Regions from separate parts of the Homo sapiens genome. Here all the other regions are linked to region 2. The links are contacts of gene promoters, found by promoter capture Hi-C in blood cells and fetal thymus (Javierre and others, 2016). All regions are on one chromosome and are shown on one strand. The core of a region is centred on a gene start or on the middle of the fragment in contact, and the rest is flanking DNA. Distances in the headings are between cores, read along the strand shown. Region 1 holds the start of EDDM3B (epididymal protein 3B). Region 2 holds the start of METTL17 (methyltransferase like 17). Region 3 overlaps LOC107984671 (a long non-coding RNA gene). Region 4 holds the start of EDDM3A (epididymal protein 3A). Region 5 has its middle 20 kb from the start of RNASE1.

The links. The method cuts DNA at HindIII sites, captures the fragments that hold promoters and counts their contacts. A CHiCAGO score of 5 or more calls a contact.
Region 1: a contact is called between the fragment with the promoter of EDDM3B here and the fragment with the promoter of METTL17 in region 2, in 6 of 17 cell types (monocytes, M2 macrophages, neutrophils and 3 more). The highest score is 8.0, in monocytes.
Region 3: a fragment that was not itself captured here is called in contact with the fragment with the promoter of METTL17 in region 2 in 2 of 17 cell types (M1 macrophages and monocytes); the score reaches 6.9 in M1 macrophages.
Region 4: the fragment with the promoter of EDDM3A here is called in contact with the fragment with the promoter of METTL17 in region 2 in 2 of 17 cell types (M2 macrophages and monocytes); the score reaches 9.8 in M2 macrophages.
Region 5: a contact is called between a fragment that was not itself captured here and the fragment with the promoter of METTL17 in region 2, in 2 of 17 cell types (M0 macrophages and monocytes). The highest score is 7.0, in M0 macrophages.

What each region holds. Positions count from the first base shown.
Region 1 is chr14:20,767,091-20,769,930 of GRCh38, reverse strand. It overlaps EDDM3B (epididymal protein 3B), which reads right to left and starts at 1,527. Exons shown (of 2, transcript NM_022360.5): 1 at 1,425-1,527. All of the region lies in intron 1 of LOC107984671 (a long non-coding RNA gene), which reads left to right. RefSeq lists an enhancer at 1,540-1,819. The HindIII fragment of the contact is 10,803 bases long and covers 1-2,840 here.
Region 2 is chr14:20,988,553-20,991,255 of GRCh38, reverse strand. It overlaps METTL17 (methyltransferase like 17), which reads right to left and starts at 1,276. Exons shown (of 14, transcript NM_022734.3): 1 at 1,179-1,276; 2 at 873-1,026; 3 at 658-792. The coding sequence starts at 1,253. RefSeq lists an enhancer at 700-749 and a silencer at 1,500-1,629. The HindIII fragment of the contact is 15,587 bases long and covers 1-2,703 here.
Region 3 is chr14:20,785,980-20,788,679 of GRCh38, reverse strand. The region is part of intron 1 of LOC107984671 (a long non-coding RNA gene); the gene reads left to right. Among named protein-coding and RNA genes, the nearest start is that of RNASE6, 6.1 kb to the right of the region's middle. The HindIII fragment of the contact is 4,946 bases long and covers 1-2,700 here.
Region 4 is chr14:20,744,455-20,747,169 of GRCh38, reverse strand. It overlaps EDDM3A (epididymal protein 3A), which reads right to left and starts at 1,283. Exons shown (of 2, transcript NM_006683.5): 1 at 1,178-1,283. The region is part of intron 2 of LOC107984671 (a long non-coding RNA gene); the gene reads left to right. The HindIII fragment of the contact is 4,056 bases long and covers 1-2,715 here.
Region 5 is chr14:20,821,489-20,824,188 of GRCh38, reverse strand. No RefSeq gene overlaps it. Among named protein-coding and RNA genes, the nearest start is that of RNASE1, 20 kb to the right of the region's middle. RefSeq lists an enhancer at 2,165-2,459. The HindIII fragment of the contact is 1,018 bases long and covers 904-1,921 here.

The DNA of each region.
Region 1 (2,840 bases), core at 278-2,777, 220 kb after region 2:
CACATAATTAGAAAAAATAGATGAAGTTCATTTTGAGAATTCCAACCATCTCCTCTCATCCCTCTCTTACACCCAACCTGAGGAGCCAATCACCCTCCAGCTGGCTCCTTTTTACCAGACCAACTCTCAGGAGATCATGTGTCCAAAAGAGAATGATATTTTAAGGTTTATGTCCTTGAAGTGGAAAGGGTTGTCAGATTTTAGGGAAATGTAGAAAATGAGTAACTACTTGGGAAGTGGTTCCTAGGTAGGAAGGCTTCGATTCGCTAAAATGACAGCCTAGCCTGCAATTACTTCTTGCCTGCTTCTCCAATTACTTAATGATGCTTCTCCAATCTTGACTTCCTTATAACACTTTCTCCAAAGCCTGAGTGGAACGTATGTTCATTACTAACTACCCATATTCCTTCTCAGGGGTCATTCCCCTAATTATCACTATTACAAATGATCTTGGTTTGTCAGAGCTGCTCCTTGAAAATGTCATCATAAAATAACTCCAGTTTTGAGGTTTTTATTTGTTTATTTATTTTTGAGACAGAGTCTCACTGTGTCACCCAGGCTGGAGTGCAGTGGCACAGTCTTGGCTCACTGCAACCTTCACCTCCAGGGTTCAATAGATTCTCTGTCTCAGCCTCCCACGTAGCTGAGATTATAGGTGCCTGCCACCACACACAGCTAATTTTTGTATTTTTTTTAGTAGAGACAATGTTTCGCCATGTTGGCCAGGCTAGTATCAAAATCCTGGCCTCAAGTAATCTACCCACCTCGGTTTCCCAAAGTGCTGGGATTCTCAGGCATGAGCCACTACACCCAACCAGAATTCCAGATTTGAAATATTCCTGTAATCAATCAAGCACCAAGACTAAAAGAGCCCCCACAGTGGCTTCTGTGGTGATAGCATGGAGTGTGGGGATCTTTTTGAAAGAGTCTACCGTTTAAACTAGTGCTCTGTCCTCATTTACCATGAGAAGTGTTCCCGCCCTTACTGAATCTCTAACCTGATTCACAACTCTGAGCATTGGTGTCCTCAGATGGACTTAATAATAGCTCCCTACAGACCTGCAAGTGTCTAATGAGACGCATGTATTTGAGAGCACTTCTAATGATGTCAAATGTCCACATCAGACACAGAACAAAGGGTCGGTACTTCCTATCTGTGGAACCCTGTCCTGATGATAAAGACCTACAGAGGATAGAAGAGCAGGATGTAAGCGGTTTTAATGCATTGTGTTTGAGAAGACTGGGGGTGAAGGAAGGGAGGGGCAGGGAAAGCCTGTATCAGTGGGACTGAGGCTGACCAGAATTCACACCTTTGTTTTCCATGATTTGGATCCTTCTCCATTGTTTGCTATCTAAAAGTTCAATCAGCCTCCTTTCAGTGCTCCTGGCTGTCCCCCAAACATCCTCAGCAGAGCCCTTCTTACCCTACTCAGACTCCAAGTTCAGGTCACTGGTTGTAGTTGGGATCAGTGTGTGGATCTGAAGAGCAGAGTCTGAGTCCTCCTTTCCTCAGGGCCCTGGAAATCTGCAGCAGTGGAGAAAGGAATAGCAGGGGGAGCTGCAAGGCTCCAGCTGATTGGTAGTGGAGGTGGTGATGGGGAATAGCCTTATTATGTGAACTTGTTCCTGTATCTTCTCATCTGGAACACTTGAGTTTATTCAGACAGTGGCCTCAAGCAAAGGCTACAAACATCAAAGGCTGACTCCAGGGCACAGAAGAAGTGCAAGACCCTAGAGTGAGGTGACCCCAGAAAGGGGTTATCTGGTGCTATCAGTAGACAACGAGAGACCTGGCTTCTGCACTCAATTTCTGACAAAGTTCTGGGAAGTCCCTGGAGGGTTATGCTATGTTACACAGAAACTTCTCTGAAGAAAGCCACTTATAACATTGTGAACTGTGGGACTTTCGTTGAGAGGTGAAAGAGTATCTAGTGAAACTGGTGGCCAGATAGTTATGATTAGGTAGCCAGTATCTGAAGTTTTACTAGGCAGTTTGTTATTGTCGATGAAACGAGTCAGCTGGGTGTGGTGGCTCACGCCTGTAATCCCAGCACTTTGGGAGGCCAAGGCGGGAGGATCACCTGAGGTCAGGAGTTCAAGACCTACCTGGCCGAGGTGGTGAAACCCCATCTCTACTAAAAATACAAAAATTAGCTGGGCGTGGTGGTGGGCACCTGTAATCCCAGCTACTTGGGAGGCCGAGGCAGGTGAATCGCTTGAACCTGGGAGGCAGAGGTTGCAGTGAGCCGAGATCACGCCATTGCACTCCAGCCTGGGCAACAGGAGCAAAACACCATTTCAAAACAAAAGAAAAGAAAAAAAAAAGAGTCAAACTCTGTAAAATATTTGAAGAGATTTATTCTGAGCCAAATATGAGTGACCATGGCCTATGACACAGCTCTCAGGAGGTCCTGAGGACATGTGCCCAAGGTGGTTGGAGCACAGCTGGTTTTATACATTTTAGAGAGGCATGAAACATCAATCAAATACATTTAAGAAATACATTGGTTTGGTCCAGCAAGGCGGGACAACTCAAAGCTGATGGGGAGTGGAGGGCCTCCAGGCCATAGGTGTATTTAAACATTTTCTGGTTGACAACTAGTTTTGTCTAAAGACCTGAGATTGATAGAAAGGGAATATTCAGGTTAAAATAAAGATGGTAGAGACCAATTCTTTCGAAGTCTTATAGTGGCTGCCCTTAGAGACAATAGATGACAAATGTTTCCCTTTCAGATCTTAATTAATATCTTTAGGATTGGAAGGTCTGGAAGAAAAATATTTAGCTATGTTAATAGAGATTCTTTACAGATGCAAATTTTCCCCCACAAAGAACAGCTTTG
Region 2 (2,703 bases), core at 27-2,526:
GAAGAGGGTTTCAGTACTGGGCAGGGACCATCCAGGGACTTTATTTTACCTGAATAAAAACTTAGAAGGTCCTAATCCAGTGGACTTGCAGAAAAAAATAAATATCTAGATTTTAACAGTATATTGGTAGCCAGGCGCGGTGGTTCATGCCTGTAATCCTAGCACTTTGGGAGGCCAAGGTGGGCGGATCACCTGAGGTCAGAAGTTCGAGACTAGCCTGGCCACCATGATGAAACCCCGTCTCTACTAAAAATACAAGTAGCCGGGTGTGGTGGTGCACGCCTGTAATCCCAGCTACTGAAGAGGCTGAGGCAGGAAAATCACTTAAACCCGGGAGGCGGAGGTTGCAGTGAGCCGAGATCGAGCATTACACTTCAGCCTGGGTGACAGAGCAAGACTCTGTCTCAAAGCAAAAACAAAACAACAAAACAAACAAACAAACAAAAAACAGTATACTGGGACATTCTGACCTTTACCTAAGCAATCTCTAAAATAATCTACCTTCTTTTAGTAAGGCATCATTGTAACAACTGCTGCTCTGGTTAGAAAGTCAAATAAGAGACTTCAGTATCTGAGAGATTGTAGAATTATTTCTTACTCTTCATTTCTAACCGATATTTCAATCTCGCCCACTTTTTAATTATTCTTAAGTCCTACCTGGGTTTTCCAGGAATTTTTTCTCAAGATGCCTAGCCCGTCTTTGCAACTCCTCTGGCTCTACAGGCAAATGTCTGCTCCAGAGATAACTGGTCAGTGTTTGCACCTGATTCTCCATAGTGGGCCCAGCGCTCCCTATGGGCCAAAGACGAAAAGCGGAATCACTTGCATGTAGGTCCAGTCCCGTTTCTTCTCGCTTTCCCGCCGTTACTCACCAAGTAGCAATAACTGGGCACCGTTAGCCAGTGCCTGTGGCAGCCGCACGTGCGGCAGCTTTAGGATGCCAGGGTGCTGGCGATGAGGCCTCTTCTGCAGGAAACCGGACTTGTTATCTACCTGGGTCACTCCGGGTACTAAGGCGGCGAGCGCCTGCAGGCAGAGAAAGGTAGGTTGATTTCCTGGCAGAAAGGAAAGTTGCTGGCAATCGCTAGGGCGGGGGCTGCCAGGAGCGCTCCTCCTCTGCGCGGAGATGTCTCTGCAGATCCAGAGTCTCTCCGACAGCAGGGAATGTAGGCACTCACCCGGGCCTGGGGAGCCACTCCAAGGCCGGGGCACCATCTTCCTAATGTCAGTAGACACTTCAGTGCCGCCGCCATGGCTCCGGAGGCGAACCGGAAACGGAAATACAGGTGCCTGTGACCCTCAGTCCCAACGCCGCAAGGAGCAGCCTTCGCAGAACTTCTCCCGACAGTTTCAGCCAACGAGAAGAGCGAGTGTTTGCCAGCAGCCAATAAGCAATGGTTATATAAATAATCCTTGAGGCAGAAACCGTGTTTGGGCCGACTTGAAGGCTGCGTTGGGCCTGGTCACCGGCCCCAGAAATCAAGAGGGTGGGGTGGGGCGGGGCGGGACGGGACGGGGGCGGGATGGGGTTGGGTGTGAGCGCGCCAGCAAAGACTGTTTCTGGGAGTACTGACTTCCTGTGTTCTTTGCATTCCTCCGCGGAGAACTCTGAGTCTTGGGTTGTTTCCCTGTGTGAAAAAGGGAGACTGCAGTAACGGAAAGAAGAGAAAAATCAGATTTAAGCGACTGAAGAAAACAGAAATTAATAGTTAAATGATTATTGAATAGTTAATAGTTTGATAAATATTAAACCTAGTTAATAGGTTTATTTATTTTTTTACATTTGTTAATTTCTCTTCAAATGAGACCAGTCTTCTTAGTAAGCTAACATAACACTTACTGAGAACACCTATGTGCTAGGTACTTCAGGGAAAAGGACTGATCCCCACTTCACAGAAAACATGGTTCTGACGGGGACCCTCCTGTGTCTGCTGCTACGTCAGAGTGTTTCCCCCAGGCCCAGGACTTAGACAGTAGCCGTCTGATTACCTGAGGTGCAGAATCTCAGGTGGGTCCAGCCACTATTGTGACGTGATAATATAGCATAGGGGAATGGTCTCCAGAGTCTGCAAGCTCATCAACACCTTCATTCACTAGAGCATCAGAAGGATAAATGGCATATGCAAGGCGATATCTACTTTCGGGACCTGACAGTGGACAACTGCTACCTCAGTCTCCGAACACTTGAGCTCACCCAGTGTGTGATTTCTGTGGGCTCCTGGCCCCCTAATTTCCGTTACAGGTTTAGGATGTTCTCCCAGCACATCCACTTGACCTGTGTGTGGAACCAGCCAGTTCATCTGGAGGGCTAGACTCCTGAGTCATCAGGCTAGGGCCTGATGATCTCAGGCCCCAGCGCCCTAATTGGACTTTCCTTCTGTGGTTCTCTACCTTATTCGACTTCTTCCCCAAATCTGCAGACCTCACCGACTGCAGCCTGCCAGCTCTCTCAGGGCTCCTCATCTCGGGGTGAGGTGGGGTGAGGAGACATGGGTGGACAGGGGGAGAAGGGCCGCTCTGCCTCTTCCAGGCGGAACCGCCCTTCCTGTAGATGAATGCATGGCCCACTGACACATCCTAGGCTGACACTTGCCTCTTTTCCAGCTTTTCCTCAGTCCTCCTTTTACCTGGGAATCTTTCCTGGGTGCTCAAAAGGGTCACCACAGTGACCTCTACCCCTCCAGTGAGAATGCTCACGTTCAG
Region 3 (2,700 bases), core at 120-2,619, 200 kb after region 2:
CATTTTGTTTTTGTTTTTGAGACAGAATCTTGCTCTATCACCCAGGTTGGAGTGCAGTGGTGCAATCTCGGCTCACTGCAGCCTCCACCTCCCAGGTTCAAGTGATTCTCCTGCCTCAGCCTCCCAAGTAGCAGGGACTACAGGTGTGTGCCAACATGCCCGGTAAATTTTTGTATTTTTAGTAGAGATGGGGTTTCACCATGTTAGCCATGGTCTCAAACTCCTGACCTCAAGTGATCCGCCCACCTCAGCCTCCCAAAGTGCTGGAATTACAGGTGTGAGCCACTGTGCCTGGCTGTGTGGACATTTTGGAAAATACAATTGGCCACAACTAGTTTGAAGAAAATATGGCAATATTTGGTAAAATTGGACATGAATATGGCTTAGCAATTCCACATCTGGGCATATATTAGTGAAAATTTACCACATGTGCACACGGAGAAATGTACAAAGATACTCATTGCAACATTGCTTGTTAGAGTGAAAATTTGGAAACATCCTAAATATCCACCAGAAGACAGATAAATAAATGGTGGTATACTAATACAGAGGGGAAAATAATGAATCAATAAAAATAAAGGAACAACAAATACACATTTTAATATTGATGAGTCTTGGAAACACTGTTGGGTGAAAAAAACTAGTTGCAGAATGATACGTACCTTATGATAGTATTTATACAAATGTATTAAAATTGCACACTGAAACACTATATTTTGCTTATGAATGTATTATACTTAAAGAGTACAAAAAAAGGACTGAATATACCCCAAATGTATGATTTCATCTGAGAAGAGTTTTTTTTTGTTTTATTGTTTTTTTTTTTTTGCGACGGAGTCTCGTTCTGTCGCCCAGGCTGGAGTGCAGTGGCGCGATCTCGGCTCACTGCAAGCTCCGCCTCCCGGGTTCACGCCATTCTCCTGCCTCAGCCTCCCGAGTAGCTGGGAATACAGGCGCCCGCCATCACACCTGGCTTATTTTTTGTATTTTTAGTAGAGACGGGGTTTCACCGTGTTAGCCAGGATGGTCTCGATCTCCTGACCTCATGATCTACCCGCCTCGGCCTCCCAAAGTGCTGGGATTACAGGCGTGAGCCACCGCGCCCGGCTGAGAAGAGTTAAGAAGAATTACCAGAAAGGAATAAAATGGACCCCAATGTTTTTATATTTTATTTATTTTAAAATTTTAAGCAAATGAAACACTTAATATTTATTTCTTTTGCATGCCACTAGTATATTGTATTTATCTGGATTGTTTAATTTTTGAAAAGTAAATAATCCCATTAAAAATGAAGTGAACTCATGAGAGAGAGCAAGGGAAAAACTTGACGAAATCCATCAAGTATGAAGAGCCCCCAAAGACTTCCCATCCCCACGAGCTTCTGCTTCTCCTCCTTGCGAAGCTCTTTGGCTCTGCTATTGCCACCCCTACACCTGGGTTTTTGTGGGGTTTTTTGCAATCTTGACTCAAATGTGGACAAACACTTTCTTGTTTTTATTAGCACTGTCTAGATAAAATGGCATTTTCAAAAATAACTTTACAAATTAAAAAGATGACTTGAAGAAATATTCACAGTATCAAAAGAATCAATAAAATCAGTTTTAGATTGTATAATTTCTTTTCAGACGAAATTAATTAAAATATCCACCTAACTCACTAAGTACAGCTGTAAAAGTGGTTTAATGTTTTTACTGGTCCCACATCCTCCTGTCTTAAAATAAACTTTCCTCTATTCCTCAAGAGTACATTGTTATTCAATTTCTGTTTCCACACTGTGTGGTTAAAGAAAAAGTATTGAATTGTCTATCTAGCCCCTTTTCTCTGGGAACTATGACATCTCTAACCAGGGCTAACTCACCTGGAACCAGTCCTGGCCCCAAGACAACACTACAGACATGAGTCCTGAAGCTCCTTAGGGCTTCCTGTGCTGGAAGGAAGGGTTGAGGGTGGGAGAAAGCCCCAAAGGAGAGAAAGAGAATAGGATCCCATGCGGATCTCAGGCCAGGCACTACCAGCCTGGGCTGACTGCAGCCACTGATGAGAGACTTAGAAAATGTTGAGAAGGGTATTCCAAGATGCAACGGGGTGCCTGAGGAACAGGCGAGGCCAGAGACCCCATTTGGCCAGCCTTAAGGGCAGTTCTCTCTAAGCCTCTCTTCTGCATGGTCCACAAGAAAGGCTCCTGGAAGCTATTTTTTGCAATGTGATTCTGTCCGATGGTCATGTCTGATCTATGGATGGGATCAGTCAGAATCCCTTCAAAAATAAATAATATTTCAGAGAAAATTAGAAAGTGAGATGGAAAGGGATGACTGTCTACTTACTGTGTGAAAAAGAAAAGCAGAGGAAATGAGTACATTGCAGAAAAAGACTGAAACAGGGCACAGAAAGGAATATTAAGAATTCATTACGGTCGGGCGCGGTGGCTCACTCCTGGAATCCCAGCACTTTGGAAGGTCGAGGCGGGCGGATCACGAGGTCAGGAGATCGAGACGATCCTGGCCAACATGGTGAAACCCGGTCCCTACTAAAAATACAAAAAATTAGCCGGGCGTGGTGGCGGGCGCCTGTAGTCCCAGCTACTGGGGAGGCTGAGGCAGGAGAATGGCGGGAACCCGGGAGGCGGAGCTTGCAGTGAGCCCAGATCGCGCCACTGCACTCCAGCCTGGGCGACAGAGCGAGACTCCGTCTCAAAAAAAA
Region 4 (2,715 bases), core at 34-2,533, 240 kb after region 2:
ATCACACCTCTGCACTCCGGCCTGGGTGACAAAAGCAAAACTCCGTCTCAAAAAAAAAAAAAAAAAAGAATACAGTTTCTAAGAACTAAAAATATGCTTTAGCCTGTGAGAGCTAACACAAATTTGGAAAATATAGATAAAGTACCTTTTGAGAATTTCAAATATCTCCTGTCTACCCTGTCTTCTACCCAATTTGAGGAGCCAATCACTATCGAGCTCTCTTTTACCAAATAAGCTCTCAGGAGATCATGTGTCCAATAGAAAAATGACATTTTAAGCGTATTGTCTGCAAAGTGGAAAAGATTGTTGCATTTTAAGGGAATGTAGAAGATGAGTAACTACTTGGGAGGTGGTTCCTAGGCAGAAGGCATTGATTCTGGAAACCACAGCCCAGGCTGCAATTGCACTTCTCTGAAAAATGATGTTTTTCCAACCTTGACTTCCTTATAACACTTTCCCCAAAGTCTGGGTGAAACATGTGATCATTATTAACTATCGGCATCCCTTCTCAGAGGCCATTTCCCTAATTACTGCTATTACAAATGATCTTCATTTGTTAGAGCTTATTGACAATGCCATCATAAAAGGACATCAGTTTAGAACTGTTGCTGTAATCAATCAGGCACCAAAACTAAAACAGTCCCCCGCAGAGCTACTGTGGTCACAGCATAGGATGTATGGTCGTTTGAAAAAGTTATCTCTTTACCAGCTATCTGTCCTCATTTGCCATGAGGAGTATTCCTGGCCCTACTGAACCTCTAGCCTGATTCATAGCTCTGAGTATCGGTGTCCTCAGATAGGCCTAATCACAGCTCCCTACAGACCTGCAAGAGTCTAATGAGATGCAAGCATGTGAGAGCACTTCTAAAGATGTCAAATGCCCACATCAGGCACAGGGTTCCTCATCTGTGGAACCCTGTCCTGGTGATAAAGGCCTACACAAGATAGAAGAGTAGGATGCAAGCAGCTTTAATGCACTGTGCTTAGGAGGACTGGCGGTGAAGGAAGGGAGGGGCAGGGAAAAGCCTGTATCAGTGGGACTGAGGCTAACCAGAATTCAGACCTTTGTTTTCCATGATTTGGATCCTTCTCCATTGTTTGCTATCTAAAAGTTCAATCAGCCTCCTTCCAGTGTTCCTGGCTGTCCCCCGAGCAACCTCAGCAGAGCCCTTCTTACCCTACTTGGACTCTGAGTTCAGGTCACTGATTGTAGTGGGGATCAGCATGTGGATCTGAAGAGCAGAGTCTGCGTCCTCCTCCTTTTCTCAGAGCCCTGGAAATCTACAGCAGTGGAGAAAGGAATAGTAGGGGGAGCTGCAGGGCTCCAGCTGATTGGTAGCCGAGGTGGTGATGGGGAACAGCCTTATTATGTGAACTTGTCCCTGTATCGTTTCATCTGGAACACTTGGGCTCACTCAAACAGTAGCCTCGAGCAAAGGCTACAAACATCAAAGGCTGAGCCCTGGGTACAAAATGATTGCAAGACCCTAGGTGACCCCAGAAAAGGGTTATCTGGTGCTATCAGGAGACAACCAGAGACTTAGCTCTGCTCTCAATTCTAACAAACTTCTGGGGAAGTCCCTGGAGGGTTATGCTATGTTACATGGGAACTTCACTGAGGAAAGCCACCTTTTTTTTTTTTTTGAGATGGAGTCTCGCTCTGTTGCCCAGGCTGGAGTGCAGTGGCGAGATCTCGGCTCACTGCAAGCTCCGCCTCCCGGGTTCACCCCATTCTCTTGCCTCAACCTCCTGAGTAGCTGGGACTATAGGCGCCTGTCACCACGCCCAGCTAATTTTTTGTATTTTTAGTAGAGACGGGGTTTCACCGTGTTAGCCAGGATGGTCTCGATCTCCTGACCTCATGATCTGCCTGCCTCAGCCTCCCAAAGTGCTGGGATTACAGGTGTGACTCGCTGTGCCTGGTCTTTTGCCTTTTTTTTTTTTTTGACAGGGTCTTGCTCTGTCGCCCAGGCTGGAGTGCAGTCGCACAAACACTGCTCCCTGCAGTCTCAACCTGCCAGGCTCAAGCAATCCTCCCACCTCAGCCTCTTGAGTAGCTGGGACTATAGGCATGCAACACCATGCCTGGCTAGTTTTTTGTATTAATTTTTGTAGAGACAGGGTTTCACCATGTTGGCCAGGTTGGTCTTGAACTCCTGAGCCTAGCTAAGCCTCAACACATCAGCCTCTAAAAGTGCTGGGATTACAGGCATGAGCCACTTGGTCAGGCCAGAAAATCACTTTTAATGTTGTGAATTGTGAGACCTTCATTGAGAGGTGAAAGAATATCTAGTGAACACAGTGGCCAAATAGCTATGAATGATTAGGTAGCCAGTATCTGAAATTTCTCTACTCAGTTTTTTAATTATAACCTTTAGCTGTTTGGTGACACTGTACTGCTTACTATTAAAATGTCACATAGCCTGGCCATAGTTTCTACAATGCTACTATACGTAACATCTGACTGTGAAGTATAGGTCACAAGGTGCTGGCTAAGTTGTTTTTCAGGACCTCAAGATTCAGTCCTGAACTCAGCTCAAACTGACAAGACCACAACTTCTTCAACTGAGTTTGTGCAAGTGTTCAATGGTTACCTTTAACATCACAGCCGGAATTTTCCACCATATTTTCCATGCCAACTCCCCACAAATTGGCAAATGTGACCAATACTGGTTCATCAACACTAGTCAAAGTTACGATTTATGAATAAAGTAA
Region 5 (2,700 bases), core at 163-2,662, 170 kb after region 2:
TTCACTTAGTGTCTCTCATGACAGGGAGGAAACTTAGCGTTCCTTGGAGACCTGAAGGGATGCAGTGAGTTTAAGACTTTCCAAGAGCTTACAAATCAGTCAGCCTTTGTTCATCCCTTAGCGGATGTGTGGTGGTATTGTGGACCTTTACCGGAAGCTCTGCCAAATAACTGGAGTGGCACTTGTGCTTTAGTACAATTGGCTATCCTTTTCACCCTGGCATTTCATCAATCGGAGGAAGGAAAAATAAGACATTGTAAAGCAAGAGAAGCCACTTACGGGTCTTTCGACTCACATCTATTTAAATGCAATTGGAATCCCATGGGGAATACCAGATCAATTTAAAACCTGAAATCAAAGAGCTGCAGGATTTGAGTCAATATTTTGGTGGGGGACAATTAATAAAAATGTAGATTGGATAAACTACATCTACTACAACCAACAGCAATTTATTAACTACACTAGAGTTGCTGTTAAAGGAATAGCTGAGCAATTAGAGGCTACTAGCCAGATGGCTTGGGAAAATAGGATAGCCTTAGACATATTAGCAGAATGAAGAGGAATTTGCATCATGATTAAAACTCAATGTTGTACCTTCATCCCAAACAACACCGCCCCTGATGGAAGTACAACAAAGGCATTGCAAGGTCTGACTGCTGTGTCCAATGAGTTAGCCAACAACTCAGGGGTAAATGACCCCTTTATAGGAGGGCTAGAAAAGTGGTTCAGTAAATGGAAAAGGATAATAGCCTCAATTCTTACTTCCCTCACAGCCGTAATGGGTGTACTTATTCTTGTCGGGTGCTGTGTCACACCATGCATCCATGGGTTGGTGCAGAGGCTCATAAAAATGGCACTCACTAAAACCTCCCTTAACTATCCTCCACCTTATCCAGAGAAGCTTCTTCCTTTGGAAAATCAAGCAAAACAACTAAGCCGAGACATGTTAAAGAATTTTGAAGAGAAAAAACTGTAAGGAAATATAAGAGGAGGGGTTGTTAGATATGAGTTCTAAATTTCTCTTCAAAGAATCAGTATGTCAGTATGTTCGTATGTTCAATTCTTTGCCTTCTACTTTTAACTTCCTCGTAAAGCAACCTTTTTCGATTACCTGCTCCACCCTGACTCATTCCAATTACCTGCTCCACCCTGACTCATTCCGATTACTTCCTCTGCCATAACCATTTTCCCCACCAAACCACTCACCCTGTCACTCTCTTTAAATTAGCCAGTCGGAATTAGTTTAGCCTGTGCGTTCTAACCCTAGCCAATAGAGGAACGACACAGCAGCAGGGGCCACATGCGTCAGGGATAAGAACCCCTTTCCCTCCCTTGTCCAAGTGTGTGCTCACCATTGCTCCATCTGTAAGGGTGCACCCTTCTATAGAAGTACATTGCCTTGCTGAGAATTAAAAAGAACATTTTATATTCGAGTGCTATTTCTTTTGTGGCACCAAAACTTTATTTATAACTAGGGGTTTCACCATGTTGGCCAGGCTGGTCTCAAACTCCTGACCTCAAGTGTTCTGCCCGCCTTGGCCTCCCAAAGTGCCGGGATTACACACGTAAGCCACTGTACCTGGCTGGCATTGGTAGTTTTTAAGAGCTTCCAAAAAGATTTATCGAAAAGTCTCATCAAGTTATAAGTAGCAGAGCTGGGGAAAAAACACACTTTTTTTCCCTGACCTTTTATATTACCTGAGCTATATTTATTACACCACTTCTCTGTTTTTGAAAATTCACCTTTCTACAGTAGCAGTCATTAATTGTTGCCTTTTTATTGGAGAGCTAGGCTTCTCATTTATTCTTTTTCAGATGATATTGTACACATCATGACACCTTTCTGAAACCACCTTTGCAAAATTATGACCGAGACAGTGAAACAGATCTAACCTAACTAACTCTATCTTGCTTTTAAGCTTTAAGCTGTCCTTGTTCATTCCCGGGGTAGGCTGAACTAACTTTGGGAGAAACTTGCTTTATGGTTTGTAGTTTAAAACAAAGACAATAACAACCCTTTCCTAAAGCAGACCTCCTTCTTGCCTGGGGACTAGATTCACTTTGTAGGACTAACATTAGCCACAATATTAGAAATTATGGTTTAGGAGTCATGCAGCTGGAGGCTACAAGATTCTGACCCTCCCTAAACTCCTCCTAAGATCAGTGCTTGAGATATTTTGCTGACCCTGCACTTGATGGATCAGCTGGCACCACCCAGATTGATAAACTGGCTCATCTGATCTTGTGTCCCCCACCCAGGAACTGACTCAGTGCAAGAGGACAGCTTCAGTTCCCTATGGTCTTGTTTCCTAACTGACCAGTCAGCACTCCTGGCTCACTGGCTTCCCCCCACCCACCAAGTTGTCAGTAAAAACTCTGCTTCCCTGAATGCTTGGGGAGACTGATTTGAGTAATAATAAAACTCCGGTCTCCCACACAGCCGGCTCTGTGTGAATTACTCTTCCTCCATTGCAATTCCCCTGTCTTGATAAACTGGCTCTGTCTAGGCTGTGGGCAAGGTGAAACCACTGGGTAGTTACATTCCTCCTTCATGAAAAACACATTCCATTTCTTCCACAACCACCTTTTGATTCTGCACCATGTCTAATATTTTTTGTATAGTATTTTCTTTGTTTCTAGTCAGTTAATCTTCTGTGACTCCGTAGCCTTCTACAATGAGACATTAATTTACTTGACATG